2 separate regions of the Homo sapiens genome follow, and region 1 is linked to region 2. The links are contacts of gene promoters, found by promoter capture Hi-C in human tissues and cell types (Jung and others, 2019). All regions are on one chromosome and are shown on one strand. Each heading gives the region's core, a stretch centred on a gene start or on the middle of the fragment in contact. The rest is flanking DNA. Distances are from core to core; before and after follow the strand shown. Region 1 overlaps IFT140 (intraflagellar transport 140). Region 2 holds the start of CLCN7 (chloride voltage-gated channel 7).

Region 1 (2,700 bases), core at 201-2,700, 44 kb after region 2:
TTTCTTTTTTTGTGAAAATCCCTGAAAAAGAAATCGTGGTTATTCAGACTCGGGTACATGCAGACATTTCTTCACAAATAAAGTAAGTCTGTCGCTTTCCTGCGACACTGCTAGTAACAGCCAGTAACAGCGTGAGACTGTTACTTTTTGCTACCGACAGATTTTTTTTTTCTTTTGAGACAGGGTCTCGCTCTGTCACCCAGGCTGGAGTGCAGTGGCGCCATCAGATCTCACTGCAGCCTCAACCTCCTGGGCTCAAGGGATCCTCCCACCTCAGCCTCCCAAGCAGCTGGGACCCCAGGTGTGAGCCACCATGCCTGGCTAATTTTTCCCCTTTTTGTAGAGATGGGGTTTCACCATGTCGCCCAGGCTGCTCTTGAACTCCTGGGCTCAAGTCATTCTCCTGCCTCAGCCTCCCAAAGTGCTGGGATTACAGGAGTGAGCCGCCACACACAGCCTCAGTTTGAGCCGTTAAGCCTTCGTTTCAGGAGCCTTGTGTGGCGGGATGCTGCTAGTGAGCAGCACTCAGGCCTCACCGTCTGGTATTCCTCCTTCCGCACGTAGTGCTCCACCAGGAAGCCATAGACGTCCCCGATGCGGATGGTGCTGTCCAGGTCTGGTTCCTCCAGGAGCAGCTCACACTGCTTGATGGACTCCTTGGGGTCCTCTGTGTACGTCCTGCCGAGAGCAGAGATGAGGCCTGGGCCCCGAAGCCCTGAACACCTACTGCTATCAGAGGTCAGAGGAGACTCTTGGCCTGTAAGAGGAGCTCTCCGGAATGGCAGGAGGAAACTTTCTATGAAGTTAAATTCATTAATTCCTTAATTTGTTCATTCATAAATTAACTCATCCATGTAACATTCTTACTGATCACTTGAATGCTGGGTCCTATGCTTGGACTGAAGACCAAAGACTTCCGACCCCTAGTTCCTGCTCTATGGAACAGTCCAGAGGGGGCTAGAAACCTCTGCACAAAGCGTGACCCAGAGGGGATGTGGTGCATGTGGACAGGGTACACGGAGAGGCGCACGGCACCCCTTGCCCAAGGCCGCTGGGAAGAACCCTCCAAGCAGAGAGGCTGCCCGCACACAGGCTGCGTGTGTGACCTGGCGTGAGGGTCTGTGGCAGAGCAGGGTGTGTGGCCTGTGAGCTGGGGTGACACCAGGGAGGTGAGCCTGCTGGAACACAACATGGTCCAGGGCAGGTGACTGGAGCCGTGTGGAGCTCAGGCTCCCATGTCAGGAGGGTCCAGGGCCCATCTGGCCACCCACTGACTCGGCCATTCCAGACAGGCGCCTGGCCTGCCCTCTGACCCCTGGCCCATAGAAGGTTGCCCACCCTGGCCCTCACACGTCGTCTCCCCTCCACCCACGTCCTGTGCTATCCCTGATGACCAGCTGCTATCGATTCTCCTCCGCTCCTGCCCTGTGGCCTCAGCTCAGCAGACATCTGTGAGACGCTGATACCCCAGAATCGACACGTGCAGGTGGACCGTGCCCTTCCAAGGGGCACCGCTTTGTACGACCTTGTTCAAAGGACTTCTGGAACTCTTGTTTTGGAAAAGGTTCTCCGATAAGGAAAACAGCCCTGCCAGCTGAGACAGAAGCTGGGCCCTGAAGCGCACAGGCGAGTGCCCACCGTGGTGGCCACACAGCAGCTCTCTGAAAAGCTGAGTCACCTGCCCATAATAAAGATGGGGAGGTGTTCAAATAAACTTAGCATCTTGGCCTCTCCTGAAAACCGAGACCATCGGCTGGCTGCCTGGGTCTCCTCTCCACAAGCTTGGAGCTGGTGGCAGTTGACCTGTGGAGAGGCATGAGCCCTCTGGTCACCATGGTCCCCCAACCCCAGGTCACACAGCGGCACTCACTCAGGACTCCCCTGCCCGGCCCCTGCACACCCTCAGCAGGTCTGTGGCTCCCCAGACACACCCTCTCCTGCTCCACATCTGCCTCCTCCTCCCACTCCCCCACCAGGTTTCTCTCTCAGCGTCTCTGGTGTTTCCAGAACACCTTCCCAAGGCTGTGCCCGGGCTCTGAGGGCTCCCAGGAGGAGGTGGGGTGTGTCTTCAGCAGTAGTGCTGTCCCAAGTGAGCTCCCATCTGCTGTCCTGCCCTTTTGCTGGCTGGGGTTTCTCGTGGTCAGCCCCGGCCCTGTAGTCACATCTGCCCTGGCCTGTCCCCGCTGGCCCCGGGGGCACACCTGCGGGCCTGGATGAACCTCTTCACCAGTGCCATCCTGCTCTGCAGCTGCGCCAGCCTGGTCTCCTGGTCCAGGGGGCTCTTGGCCTTGGCCTTGGCCAGGCACTTGTAGGCCTCGGTCAGCGCCCCGTGGGCTTTGTCGTAGTTCTGGTATTCATCAATCTCCACCTGTACAGATGAAACCCGTCAAGACCTGCCGGGCTCCACAGCCCTCCCCGGGGCCCCGCTGGCATGCCAGGGAGGGCCTGCACCTGGGCACAAGCGTCATAAAAGCCAGCCAGGAGGTCCAGGGCCCGCCCCTTGGTGTAGAAGCCGATGATGTTCTTCATGATCTCCGGCTCCTTCCGCCAGTCCAGGGACTGCAGGTAGTTAGCAGCCATGATGTAGATTTCCTTCTGCCTGGACACGCTCGCGAAGAACGTGATTTTCTCCGTGTCTCCGGATTTGAGCAGCGCCCTCATGGCCTAGGCAGAGAGACAGCGGGGCTCAGGCAAGCAGGG
Region 2 (2,700 bases), core at 142-2,641:
TGCTGGGATTACAGATGTGAGCCACCGTGCCCTGCCGTCCTTCCTAATCTTTAAGCACAAGACAAGTGTTTAAAGGACTAGACAAGAGAAAATGTAAAGAATAACTGCAAAGCAGATTAAGACCCATCAACAAAACGGTCCATTAACTCAAAAGTAACACAATACGGCCAGGCGCAGTGGCTCACGCCTGTAATCCCAGCACTTTGGGAGGCTGAGGTGCGGGGGATCACGTGAGGTCGGGAGTTCGAGGCCAGCCTGACCAACACGGAGGAACCCCGTCTCTACTAAAAATACAAAATTAGCCGGGCGCGGTGGCGCACGCCTGTAATTCCAGCTACTCAGGAGGCTGAGGCAGGAGAGTCACTTAAACTCGGGAGGTGGGGGTTGCAGTGAGCCGAGATCGCGCCATTGCACTCCAGCCTGGGCAACTACAGTGAAACTCCGTCTCAAAAAAAAAAAAATATTAAGACAATACACAGACAGGGAAACAAATGTACCCGCAACGGTTCTCCAGACCTTAACACTGCTCAGACGCACGCTGCAGGGTGACATGCGGAACGCATTCCAACCTCTGACTTGCTGCTTATTGTGTTTGCCTGCACATTGCAAATTCAACTCGGTGCGAAGGGAGACTGAGTACAAATACTCGTCACTCCCAAGATCACCTGAAAGTCGGGACTGATCCCCACACAGAAAGATGGCAGATAAAGGCGCTCAGTCATTCTCACTGAAAGACAGTGACCCGGCTGCAATCTTAACTGTTTCCATCTCCCAGGGGGTCAAAAACGCAAACAAAATTAGTTGCTCGTGTAGGATGACAATTTTTAAAAGTCACCTGAACAGAAAGCCACTTGCACCCCTTTAGGGCCAGTCTGGGGGACACCGGAGGGAATGAACGTGCGCCACGGCTGCCCCGGCGCCCCTCAGCGCCCCACATTCCGCGGGGTCTGGCGAGCTCCGCCTCGCCCACGCAGCCCTCCCGGCCACCGAGCCCGGCGCGGCCTCCGAAGACTCCAGACCCCAGGCGCCCCCGCCAGCCCGGCCCCGCCGAGGAGCCCCGGGGCGCGTTCCCGAGTCCACCGCGCCTCGGTCGCCTCCAGGACCGAGACACGCGGCGCCGCCAGAAGGCTCACGAGGGCGCGGGCTGCGGGGCGCACGAGGGCTCAGTTTCCCCGCCTGCGCCCTGCCCGGCCTCACCTGGCGCGCAGCCCCAGGCCCAGCCCCGTTCAGCAGCGGCGTCCCCCCGCCGGGCCGCGCCGTCCTCCGCAGCAGCGGCGCCGCCTCCTCGTCGTCCCGGTCCCGGCCGGACCAGGACACCTTCTTAGAGACGTTGGCCATGGCCCGCCGCGGAGCGACACCGGCCGGGAAGCGCCGGCTGCCCCCGTGTTTGTTCTCGTGACCCGCGCCGGCGGCCACGTGACGCGCGACGGGGCCACGTGATGAGCGACGGCGACCATGTGACCTGCAACGGCAACCACCGAGGCCCGGTCGCGCGGGGGCTCCTGGGAGCCGCGCTCCCGGCGGGTCGTGGCGCCGCCCGCCCTAGAGAATCGCCGCGGCCCTGAGGACCCCGTTCTGCCCACGCGACTGCAAAGGCGGCCCCGTTGGGCTGAGCGCCGAGTGCTTGGGAGGCGAATGGCCGCCCCCGGGACCTCGGGCCCGGGAGTCGGGGCGAGGGAAGCGCCCGGGGCCTGAGGGCAGGAGCCGGCTGGAGGGGCTCCCCCAGGCCCGGTCGCCCGCGCCGATCGTGACGGAGCCGCGGTGGGGAAGGGAGGAGGGAGGCAGGGGCGAGGGCAGGCCTTTCCTTGCCATAGGCGGCGGCTAAAGACGTGAAGGATGAAATTAGAAGTCCCGAAGCATGCATCCGCCCTCGCAGTAGGCACTCGGGCGAGGGTCGGAGTGGAGGCTTCCTCCAGGCAGCCCCAGAGGGTCCTCCCGCCTAATGAGAAAAGAACAGAAGGCGAGTCCTCTTCAACGATCAGGCCCCAGAGACAGTACAGGAGGGTCGCCTCTGGAAACTGCCGGCTACTACGCAGATAGCTGTGAATTAGCCAAATAGCCGCCCGGACCCTGTACCCGCACCAGGGCACAGCCCATCACTAATCAATGGTATTTCCATAAACCAAAGAGAATTCTTGACAGCTTTACATCAGCCCCCACCCTGTCCCCACCTTCTGGGTCATTTATTTATTTATTTTGAGACAGGGTCTCCTTCTGTCGCCCAGGCTGGAGTGCGGTGGTGCGGTCACAGCTCAGTGCAGCCTTGACCTCCTGGACTCAAGCCATCCTCCCGCCTCAGCCTCTGGAGTAACAGGGACCACAGGCCTGCACCACCACACCCGGCTAATTTTTGCTGTGGAGCTCACAGTGTGTTGCCCAGGCTGTTCTCAAACTTCTGACCTCAAGTGATCCTTCCACGTTAGCCTCTAGAGTAAACTCTTTATATTTTGTGCCTCATCCTCTTCCTTTTAAAAGGTCGATATTTTTATTATTGAGACGGAGTCTCACTCTGTCGCCCAGGTTGGAGTGCAGTGGCCCAATCTCGGCTCACTGCCTCCCGGGTTCATGCCTCAGCCTCCCGAGTAGCCGGGACTACAGGCGCCCGTCACCATGGCCGGCTAATTTTTTGTATTTTTAGTACAGATGGGGTTTCACTGTGTTAGCCAGGATGGTCTCGATCTCCTGACCTCGTGATCCACC

What was found. The method cuts DNA at HindIII sites, captures the fragments that hold promoters and counts their contacts. A contact is called where the count stands out against the background at its distance.
Region 1: a fragment that was not itself captured here is called in contact with the fragment with the promoter of CLCN7 in region 2 in 1 of the 25 tissues and cell types used here (pancreas).

What each region holds. Positions count from the first base shown.
Region 1 is chr16:1,517,680-1,520,379 of GRCh38, forward strand. It overlaps IFT140 (intraflagellar transport 140), which reads right to left. Exons shown (of 31, transcript NM_014714.4): 28 at 2,452-2,664; 29 at 2,202-2,368; 30 at 537-678. Among named protein-coding and RNA genes, the nearest start is that of TMEM204, 15 kb to the right of the region's middle. The HindIII fragment of the contact is 6,941 bases long and covers 1-2,700 here.
Region 2 is chr16:1,473,637-1,476,336 of GRCh38, forward strand. CLCN7 (chloride voltage-gated channel 7) reads right to left here and starts at 1,392. Exons shown (of 25, transcript NM_001287.6): 1 at 1,198-1,392. The coding sequence starts at 1,338. RefSeq lists silencers at 1,135-1,344, 1,465-1,814 and an enhancer at 1,352-1,895. The HindIII fragment of the contact is 17,994 bases long and covers 1-2,700 here.